Regions from separate parts of the Homo sapiens genome. Here region 2 is linked to region 1. The links are contacts of gene promoters, found by promoter capture Hi-C in blood cells and fetal thymus (Javierre and others, 2016). All regions are on one chromosome and are shown on one strand. The core of a region is centred on a gene start or on the middle of the fragment in contact, and the rest is flanking DNA. Distances in the headings are between cores, read along the strand shown.

The links. Contacts are between HindIII fragments. The CHiCAGO score rates a contact against its expected background, and 5 or more counts as called.
Region 2: a contact is called between a fragment that was not itself captured here and the fragment with the promoter of RXRG in region 1, in 1 of 17 cell types (naive CD4 T cells). The highest score is 5.4, in naive CD4 T cells.

The regions. Positions count from the first base shown.
Region 1 is chr1:165,441,923-165,447,559 of GRCh38, reverse strand. RXRG (retinoid X receptor gamma) reads left to right here and starts at 2,434. Exons shown (of 10, transcript NM_006917.5): 1 at 2,434-2,715. The coding sequence starts at 2,667. The HindIII fragment of the contact is 7,493 bases long and covers 1-3,470 here.
Region 2 is chr1:165,599,672-165,605,308 of GRCh38, reverse strand. No RefSeq gene overlaps it. Among named protein-coding and RNA genes, the nearest start is that of LRRC52-AS1, 20 kb to the right of the region's middle. RefSeq lists a silencer at 2,774-2,934. The HindIII fragment of the contact is 3,672 bases long and covers 229-3,900 here.

The DNA of each region.
Region 1 (5,637 bases), core at 1,185-3,684:
ATTGGAACCCATGTAGCTCTGCTCCATCATTTTACAAATGAGAAAAAGGAGAGGAGCCATAAAGTGACTTGCTTAAGGTTACATCCTCTTCCTCTTTGACCTCCTCCTCCTCCCCATCATTTGCCTCAAATTAGATTACATGTATCGAGCATTTAGTATTTATCTGGCGTATTTCAAGTGCTTAACATGTATTGACTCATTTAATCCTCATGGTAACCCTATAAGGTAACTGAGGCTCAGGGAGATTTACTCATTTGCCAGTATCATGAGGCTGTAAGCAGCGGAACAGGGATTTGTACCCAGCAATGTTGGCTTGTGAGTTGGTGAGTTGGTGCTTTTACTATACATATAGCCTTTCAAGGCCATATAACTAGTGAGTAGCAGAGCAAAGTGTCTAAGGCACTAATGAATGGACTTTTTAGTGATATAAGATGTTGTCTTTGCTATGTCTATGTCAACATTTTTATCAATGAGTCGAATAAGATATGAAAAAGCAGTTCATCAGATTTTCAGAAGTCATGAAATAAGGGTATGAATAAGAAATATTTTGGACAACAGAAGCAGGATCCTAAAAGATTTGGGATGATGAATGAAGCCAAAAAGTTTTAACTTCAGAGGAATATAGGAAGCATTTCATGTAGGTCCCAAAACCAATTGCCCAAGGATGGGATGAAGAATATGCATAAGAGAACACAACTTAGGGGAGGTAGGGGTGGGGAGATTTTTATCGAGTTAGTTCTACATGAATTAACATGCAGAGCTGCCCACCTAATGCAAGTGAGCAAATGGTCCTCCTGTATTCTATATTACTTATGTCCACTGGACTCTCATCCCAGCAACAGTCAAGGCAGCTCTGGGCTCTCCAAAGCTCTTTACAGTGAAGGCCTGGATATTTCTTCCTCCTTTGTGACATGCTTTTGCTTTGATTCCCCATTTTGGCCTCCTCCTTTGTCATCATGACTTTGTTCCTGACTCTGGTCTTTTATTCTACGTTTTTGTTTTGGCTTCTCCTAGCATTTGAATCTTGATTTTTTACTCTGGGACCCTGATTTGACTTACCTCTCTGGCTCTCTATGTCTTATGCTGCATCAGGAGAAAATCTCTTATCTTTTTTCCAGCCCAACAGAGCTCAGCCCATGAAACGGACCTTCAATGGGTATGTTGACAGCACCCCATCACCGTGCCAACACATATACCATGAGGAAAAGGTTTGGACCATATCTGGAGTATTGCATCCAAGTCTGGCCAACCCCCTTCCTCACTGTGAGGGTATCTATGTAAACTGAAGTACATTATTAGAAAAAGGATAGGTTGGGAATAGACATGAACCCTTGGTGATACATAGAATTACTGAAAGAGCCAGAGATGCCTAGGGAAAGGGGGATTATGGGCACAGCAGATCAATCTCAGGATTTGCAGAGGATCCCACTGTGAAAGACTTTTTTGTCTTTCAGGCTTCTCTTGTGTGGCCCCTGGGAGCAGTCTAGCACCTGTGGGCAGAAGCTGTAGGGAAAAGGAGCAGATTTTATCTCTATAAGAAACTTTCTTGTGGTGAAAACTATCTAGAAATGGAATGAGAAAGTGGTGAGCTCCCCATTATTGGAGGTGTTCAAGTATAGGCTGAGCGGTGACTTGTCACGAAAACTGTATGACAGACCCAAACATCAACGGGGTGCTTAGATTCTTTGATCTCGGGTCAGTTCCACACAAGACAGGCTCTGTGTTAGTGAGGACCCAGTGGTGTTTTTGAACAGGCGGCAGGATAACAATGGTATATAAAATAAATGCAGAGAAAGACCTCCACATCAAGCCAACCCCTCCTCCCTACCTGTAAGTTTTCCACCTGAGTGAGCTCTGGCTCCAGCTGCACTTGTCAAACTCCCATTGTTAGAGCACAGATAAATGCTTCCGGCCACCCAAGCAGGAGAGGCCCACCTCAACTTAAGGGCTACTCTATTTTAGTTTTCCGTAGCTGGAGATTGAGTATCACGCTTTTCTAATCTTGTGCTTCTGAAAGGGCCCTGTTCTCTCTTGAACCCCACCCCCTCCTCCTTTCACAGATCAAATACCAAGTACATTGGACAGATAGAAGTTCGAATGAGAAAATGCATTTTAATAAAATCCCATTGATTTTTGTGGATGTAAGTCAAGGAACAGGCACCTAAAGAGTCTTCCATCCCCTGCCGTCTCCCGCCTCTCTCCTGACCTACACCGGGCGGTCATACATCGATTGGCTTCCTAGATAATAGATCGTGCCACCCGGTAGGGACCTCTGGGGACGCGCCGGGAGCTGGAAGAGTCGCACGCAGCAGCCCAACCCTGAGTTAATCAAACTAGCAACAGGATCTCAAGCAGCAGCGACGGCGGTGGCAAGAGTAGCGGTGACGGCGGCGGCGGCGGCGGCGGCAGCATTATGCGTGATTACTGACAGGCACCAGCTGCTGCCGCCACAGCCGTCTCAAACGCACTATGTGGACTCTCCGATCTAGAGGCAGATTCCTGACTAATCCCAGAGGGCTGGCCCAGCCTGTGCTCCCCGGGCTGCTAGGAAGCGATGACCACTCTTGTTAGCCCAAGTTGAAGAAAGCCGGGCTGTGCCTGGGAGCCGAGAGAGGCGGTAATATTTAGAAGCTGCACAGGAGAGGAACATGAACTGACGAGTAAACATGTATGGAAATTATTCTCACTTCATGAAGTTTCCCGCAGGCTATGGAGGTAAGTATCTCCCTTGGGCTTCACTGCGTGGACCTGTATGAGAGACTGAGAAGAAATTGGGAAATACGAATGACTGGATTAGTATTGAATTAAAAGGAGAACATATATGTTTATATGCATATATAGTGTGTATATAGCGTTTCAGCGTGTGTGTGCACGCGTGCATGAGAGAGGAGAGGAGGAAAGAATGGTCTGTAGGTGAGGATACGTTTGCATATCAGAATGAGGATACGGGGATATTCTAAGGAGAGAGTAAACCAACATGCTTGAGAATGTGTCTGAGACAAAGATAGAATAAGAGCATTGTTATAACCCAGTGTGTTTGTGCGGGTGTGAAAAGTGGAAGAGTTAACGGGGAATTACTATGATGTTCCTATTAGCCAACTTGTAATGAGAAAAAATGTGATTAAAAAGGTTTTGCCTATCTTGAGGGTTCCTGGGATACTTTGTAACAAGGGCATGATTGTTTTACTCAAAAGCAGATTTCCCTTTAATTGGATTTTTAAAAAGAAAACATAGTGCTTTAATTTGCTACTGTGTTTTCCTTCCCCTGTTTTCTTTCCTTTGATTTGCTAATAGCCTCTTCTCTCCTCCCCTGCTGCTGCCCCCAATTCTACTGCAAGAGTTGCTGCAATCACTTCCACTCTGGGGGTAGAGATCTGGGGATGGGGGGTTGGGGCTCTTAGAGAATTGGCAAACTGAAGATTCAAGTCACCGTGCCAGGCAGGGCAGCCCAGTCACACTTCACAGAAGCTTCCGGAGACTAGGTCCTCAGGCTGCCTTAACGCCCAAGCACATCCGTCCCAAGGATCCCTTGATTTAGTGACAGAAACAGTACAGCCGCCCAGCTCTGAGTAAATGGAAGCAACAGCTGACCAACTGGCCTGTCGCTTGTCAGTTGGAGGCATGCAGCTTATGTTGCTGGGAGCCAAAGAAAGATTCTGGCAGGCAAGACAGCAGAAATTCTTATAAGGTTTTGAAAATTGAAAAGTCCCTGCTCTCCAGACTTCCTCCGTGGACCAATTCATCTGAAGGCTTGGGACTAAAGCTTGCCTAACTTGGCTGGGCAGAACCCCCTGGGAGGCATGGTGACACACTGCAAGGTAGAAGTGATCTCTGTCACCAGGAGGTGTTAGACCTGGGAGTTTGCACATTCATTCAGGGTAGTTTTTATGAGGCAGGCATGGTGTTGGGCACTGGGAATACAAATATGAATGAGACACAGTCTCTGCCCTTTGGGACTGGGGCAGGCTTGTTACACAGGCACATTATAATACTGCATGATGTGTGTAATAGCAAACGTAGGTTGTACTTGGACTTGGGGTGAGGGCCATGGAAATGTTCCCGAGGTGATGTTCAAGTTCTTTGGGCCAGTCTGATGACAGAGTGAGAGCGGTGGCCAATGCTGTGACCTGGGCATTTGATCTCTAGTCTATGGTTGGGCTCCAGATGTGAAAAGCCTCCTCAATTCCCACCTCAGTCCCATTCAGAGCTGAGAATTGCTTTTTCCTTTACATCTTAGTTCATTTGTAAGAGGTGCATGCTCATTTTCAGCCAGATTCGTGGGCCCCCCAAGGTCTGTGAGACTGTGGCTTCATTAATGCCAAAGAGACCCTTGGAGACAGTTGGGGTGAATAAAAGGGTTGAAGCTAGAAGGATTTAGGGAGAGAACTAAAGTAAGAGCCAGAGAAAGAAGATCTAGTTAAAATTCCATGGGGGCTGGAATCTTGGAATGTTAGCATCCTAAGGACCTGAAACAGCATCTTAGGCTCTCATCTTATAGATGTGTAAACTGAGGCTCAAAAGAAGGCAGGGACTAGTCCAAATTTATATGGGGCTGAGCTGCAGAACACTTCCAGAAAAGCCCTTACTCAAATTTATAATATTGTTGCTTTAATATAGTGAAAAGAGCACCAGGAGGAAGAGGAGGCAGGAAGAGGTAGTGTGCTGAGTTTGGTTCCCAATTTTTCACCTAGTAGCTGTGTGACCTTAGGCAAGCTAGTGAACCTCTCTGAGCCTTAGCACCTTTCTCTCTAAAATGGGATTTATAATCTCATCCTTAGAGTATTGTGAAAATTAAATGAGTTAGCATGTGAAAAACAGCTGCTATAGTGTTGTCCATATATTTGCTACCTAATACAATATTTTCTTCCCCTCTATTTTACTCAGAGACTAACATGCAAAATAGTTAAAAATCAGACATTATTGTAAAATAATAAATAAGGAATCTGGGAAAATAAAATTAAATCCACAAAGACCCTCATATTTTGCTGGCATAGATTTTCATAATTGTGGGGGCTCTGATATTTAGCGTAATTAGATTTCAGATAGAAGTAAACACAATGGTTCAGCTATGGAAGGAAATAGTTCAGTATAGTATAGGGAACTTGAGGGGAAAGGGTCATGTAGGTTGTCTACATGTCTCCTGTAAAGCTACTTTTCTTTGTCATTCTTGAGGGAGGAGAAGAATTATTTTGTTTAGTTCTGTTGAGGTTTTCCATTTTGTTGGCATGTGCCAGTTAAGAGGAGGCCTAAATGCTGAGCCAAAGGACTCTGCCCCCGTCTGCAGGGAGGTCTGTTTGAGAACTTTCTGTGATGAGGGAGAGGGACAGAGGACTCACAAGCAGGCACAGGGGAAAGCAGGATTAGAGTGGACGTCACCTTTGGCCTCTAACCTCCCCTGCCACAGTGCAGCAAGTTGCACGGCACTTATTAAAATACTTGGTGTATAACCCCCTGCCCTGTTACATATTAGCACATGGAATTACAGAGGGCCCCATGATTTGTATAAGAATCTCCAGGGAAGCAAAGTCACCTTTTGGAAATAACACCTGAGATTTGTGTCTGGGACCATGCTTACCAGATGTCAGAGCATCATCTGATCAGTGAGCAACAGATTGCTCAAACTGGCCAAAGTGTGGT
Region 2 (5,637 bases), core at 815-3,314, 160 kb before region 1:
TATTTTCCAACCGGGTTTGGGTTCCTATCTCTCCTTGTGCCACAGGCCCACATGGACACTATATTCTAGTCAGTAGGATGTAGTTCCTCCAGCGGGTCATTCTGTTTCACATCTTTGTACCTTTGTACATGCTGTTCCCTCTGCTTCAATTCTCTTCTCCCATGCCAATCTTCTCCAACAATTCCTCTCATTCTTTAAAAATGTCTAAATGACCATCTCTTTGAAGCTTTCTTTCCTAGTTTCAGGGGTCTTTTTCTTATGTTCTTATAGCCCTAGGACATAATAAATATCCATTGAGTATTTGAATTAAGTATGGGCAACAGCAAGTAAGGATCCCAGGCACCAAAGCTCACACAGTTTCAATTCTGAGTGTCCTTCTGCCTCCATCAGCAAATTTCTTCCAGGAAGGATCCAATCTTAATAAGTTCCAAGCCAGCAAGTAGACACAGGGAAGCAGATACAATCTGGTTGGAGGCAATAGGAAAGGGCAGAAATATGAGACATGTCTTAATAACTCTCCCTATATTAGTTTTCTGGAATTACATAGCAAAGTACACCAGCTGGGTGGCTTAAACAACAGAAATTAATTTTCTCATAATTCTGGAGGCTGAAGTCTGAGATTAAGGTGTTGGCAGGGTTGGTTTCTTTGAAGACCGCTTTTTTTTTGGCTTGTAGATGGCCATTCTCTTCTGGTATCTTTACATGATCTACCTTTGGTATATCTGTGTCCTAATCTCTTCTCCTTAAAAGACACCAGTCATATTGGATTAGGGCCCATCCATATGACCTCATTTTACCTTAACTATCTTTTAAAGGCCCTCATTCCAAATACAATCACATTCTGAGGTTAGGACTTCAGCACATGAATTTTGTGGAGACACAATTCATTCCATAATACTCCCCCAATATAGAGAACCCATGTTCCTAACATTAAGTCCTGAAAAAACAACAGAGGTATCAATCCTGAGAGAGAGTTTCCAGGCTCTGGAGTCCTTAACTTGAGTCATGGGCTTTGTTTTTTAAACCTGTCTCTCTGTTTAAGGCCAGTACTAGAGGGCTAATAGGTTAAAGTCACAAAATGATTCTATTCCTTCATAGCTGTTATGATATCCCATAGCTAGTCTAGAGACCAAACTCCATCTAGGAAGTTCCTAGGACTGAGGGATGTTGTTGAGGTTGATTATTGGGAGATGAAGAAAATAACTGCAGTGAATTTCCAAAGATTATGCAGTGTCTCTTCCAGATTCGGAGTGACCAGGCACAGGCATCAGGGTTTGCAGAAAGAGCTGACTCAAGTAATCATTAACTTCTACCCAGAGCATCCTGGACACTGACATTTGCAGTGTCTCCGGGCTCTAAGAGGAGGTAATAGGGGCACTGGAAGGAAGCCACTCCTGAGGGAAGGATCACAGGGTAGTCTTTCTGCTGGGACCCTGTGCTTTGGGAAGTTGCTGAGCCCTTCCCACTCTAAACTAGCCATGTCTTTGGCTGAGGCCACTCCCTATTATTATTTTTTTAAAGACAGAGTCTCCCTCTGTCACCCAGGCTGAAGTGAAGTGGCGTGATCTCGGTTCACTGCAACCTCTGCCTCTTGGGTTCACGTGATTCTCATGCCTCAGCCTCCCAAGTAGCTGGGAATACAGGTGCATATCACCACACCCAGCTAATTTTTTGTATTTTTAATAGAGATAGGGTTTCATCATGTTGGCCAGGCTGGTCTCGAACTCCAGATCTCAAGTGATCAGCCCGCCTTGGCCTCCCACAGTTTTGGGATTACAGGCATGAGCCACCATGCCCAGCCCACTCCCTGTTTATATGTAGTCTTTGATTGAGGGACAGGAAACTGTTCTGCCTCTTCAAAAGGTCTGGAGAGGAAGGAGTTGTAGAGAATGCTCACAGAAGTGTAAAGCAATCCTATTTTAGTTCTTGATAGCCCCTGTTCCCCTAAAATCAGGAGATACTTTATTATTCACTTGCTGCCAGACTTCCATTAATTTATGAGAGTCATCATTGTAATAAGGTATAGAACATAGAATATTAACATTGGAAAAGACTTAAAGATCTAGTCCAGTCCCTCCTCCCCCTACTATTTTTGAGACAGGGTCTCACTCTGTTGCCCAGGCTGGAGTGCAATGGCATGATCTTGGCTCACTGCAGCCTGAACTTCCTGGGCTCAGGCAATCCTCCTGCTTCGGCCTCCCGAGTAGCTGGAACCATAGGCACAGGTGCATGTCACCACATCCAGCTAATTTTTTGATTTTTTTTTTTTGTAGAGTTGGGGTCTCACTTTCTTGCCCAGGCTGATCCCCAACTCCTAGGCTCAATCTATCCTCCAGCCTTGGCCTCCCAAAGCGCTGGAATTATAGGTGTGAGCCACAACACCTGGCCCAGTCCCCTTCATTTTGCATATGAGGGAAAAAGAGGAAACCAACATTTATTGAAGTAGATATTTTACATGTTACAAATCCTACAAGATGGATATTACCCTCATTTTATGGACAAAAGGATGCCACTCATAGAATTAATTAACTGGCCTAAACATACAAGCTATGTGCTAGGGGTGGGATTAAAATCCAGGTCAGTCTACTGACTCCTAGGCCACTTGTCTTTGGGTAATAATTCCTTAACAAACATCCAGTCAGGCACTGCTTTCTCAATTTTAATGCCCTAATCTATTTCCTCTATAGAAGATCATATCATCTAAAAAACTCAAACTGACTACTCAGGAAACTCTTGAAGATTACATAAAGTCAATCAACAGCCTTCTGTTACTCAGCCCTGTTGGACCCCAACGTGACTGGTGAAATGGCCAAACCAGTGGACTCTGCTGCATGCCTCACTTAGATTCCACTGAATGTGTGACTTGGAGATGCAGTGGAGGAGCTCACTTTTCTATTTTATTTATTTATTTAGTTTTTTTTTTTTGAGACAGAGTCTCACTCTGTTGCCCAGGCTGGAGTGCAGTGGTGTGATCTTGGCTCACTGCAACCTCCGCCTCCTGGGTTCAAGCGATTCTCCTGCCTCAGCCTCCCAAGTAGCTGGGATTATAGGTGCCTGCCACCATGCCTGGCTAATTTTTGTGTTTTTAGTAGAGGCGAAGTTTCACCATGTTGGCCAGGATGGTCTCAATCTCTTGACCTCGTGATCTGCTGGCCTCAGCCTCCCAAAGTGCTGGGATTACAGGCATGAGCCACCGTGCCCTGCCGAGCTCACTTTTCTGAAGGAGGAATTGCCGAGTACAGGACCAACAAGCAGGGTCACCTGCGAGTAAAGGGAATCCATGCTGAAACAATGAGAATTGAGACCTATTGAAAGAAAAGAGGAACTAGGGAAAGAGGACCACTGACTACGGAATGTGGGAGAAGAAAGGCACGAGGGTGTTTGCAAAGACAGCTTTTAAGGGTGCTAAGTTGTAAGAGGGCAGGGCAGCAGAGACAGAGCCCTTATGCAAAATGGAGTCACTTGGGAGGAAGGGAGTGCTCTGTGGCTGTTGTCCTATGCCACCTTGTGGCCACTTATCACTTCTCATCAAATGTTCCACCTTCTCTTATTCACTTTATATTTCTAATTACTCCTATATCCTGGAAAGTCAGCGTCACTTGAGTTTCACCCACAGCAATGCTTAATTTCAGTGGTGGATCTCAGGACACTGATTTCTTTGGACTCTCCTTGGTAGTGTGGAAGGAATTGATTGTGGAATACTGAAAGTTACGAGAGAAAGAGGTGGAAAGCAGTCAAGGTTCTCATATATTTCTTTTTCCACTGTGCTGCTAACATACTCATAGAGAAGCTATTGTAGAGAATTTCCACTATCAATGGATGACAATTCATACTGACCCTTGTATTAAAGTAGAAATGAAAATGGATTATGATGCTTTTACTGAATTCTAAGCAAAAGCTTGTTTGCTTAATTAATGTCCTGGACACCAAGTAGAGCCTATAACAATAAAAGAACAAGTAACTATGAGAAAGAATGCCCCACTGTCTTTGCTCAAAGAATGGTTGTATCAGAGACACTCCTGTGGTGGCAAGCTGCTGTGGGTTTGGGATTATGGCTCTAGAATAATAATAGTTAATACCTATTTAGCACTTCCAAATGCCAGATGCTATTCCAAGCACTTTATATAATCAACCTATTCAATTGTCACAACAACCCTGTGAAGTTGGTGCCATTAGTATCCCCCTTTTACGGACAAGGAAGCTGAGGTTGAGTAACTTGTCTAGGGTCACCACATAGTAATCACCACAGTGGAAATCAGAACCCAGGAGTTTGTGCCAGCAACCACTAGAGTGTTCTGTCTTCCTTATACCCATGTTCTATTTACAACATCGAGTTCACATACGTCTGAACTCTGGCCCTTCCTCTGTGTATCCTACTATTTCTAGAGTTGTCTGCCCTACAGTGTCACTTCTCCTGACTAGGAGCTTTTGAGAAAAGGCTTTCACTTCAGCTTTTTCCACTCATCTTTGTTCTCCTCTCACCGCCTCTTTTCCAAACACTCAAACTATACTGATTCAGCAATGAATAAGAATGTCCAGGATATTGTGATAGTTTAAAAAATGATGGAAGAGTAGGAGTTAGGGAAGGTGAACCCTATTTGAGCCTTTCCTCCCCAAGGTTTAGCATGCAGAGAGCCATTTAGATGGCTACAAGGTAACATCAGAGAACAACATACACCAATCTGCCAACATCGTGGGGAGTGATACTGAGCTCTTAAGGCCAGTGGATCTGAGGTCCAGACGTTAACAATCTTCCTTGTCCCCTTAAATGGCTTGAAAGCCTGAAATATAATTCACCTAAATTCTAGCAGCTAGAGTGACTTGAAACATCAGTAAGGTAGACCAGCTATATGAAAAGAGGAAAGGAAGAGTCAGGAAACAGCAGAAGCCAAAAAACTTTCTATTTGAGTTGTTAGAAAATTAAAGAGAGTCGGCCGGTCGCGGTGGCTCACGCCTGTAATCCCAGCACTTTGAGAGGCCGAGGCGGGCGGATCATGAGGTCTGGAGATCGAGACCATCCTGGCTAACACGGTGAAACCCCGTCTCTACTAAAAATACAAAAAGTTAGCCGGGCGTGGTGGCGGGCGCCTGTAGTCCCAGCTACTCGGGAGGGCGAGGCAGGAGAATGGCGTGAACCTGGGAGGCGGAGCTTGCAGTGAGCCGAGATTGCGCCACTGCATTCCAGCCTGGGCGACCAGCGAGACTCCGTCTCAAAAAAAAAAAAAAAAAAAGAAAAAGAAAATTAAAGAGAGTCAGCCTGCTGTTTCTAGTACCCCTTTCTCTGTTATACCATTTCAGAGCTCTACGGAGAACAAGACGCTAGACTCCTAATGAAGATAGATTCCAGCTAAGATTCAAAAATAAAACAAGAAAAACTCCCGAGGGACCTATGGGGAACTGACTGGGCAGAGCTGCTCAAAGATGTGAAAATTATAGTAACACTGGTTTTATAAGTCAGAGCCCAGATCATCAAAGCACAACGTAACATGGGTATATCTCCATAATGGAAAAGGAAGACCTTTCCTTTTATTAATAATGTTCCTGGAAAAGCAACTCTATATATAGGGAACTCAGAATTACAGCACCCTTTGTGTAGTCAGAAACAAGCTTGGAAGTGAAGTAAAAACAGTATAATAA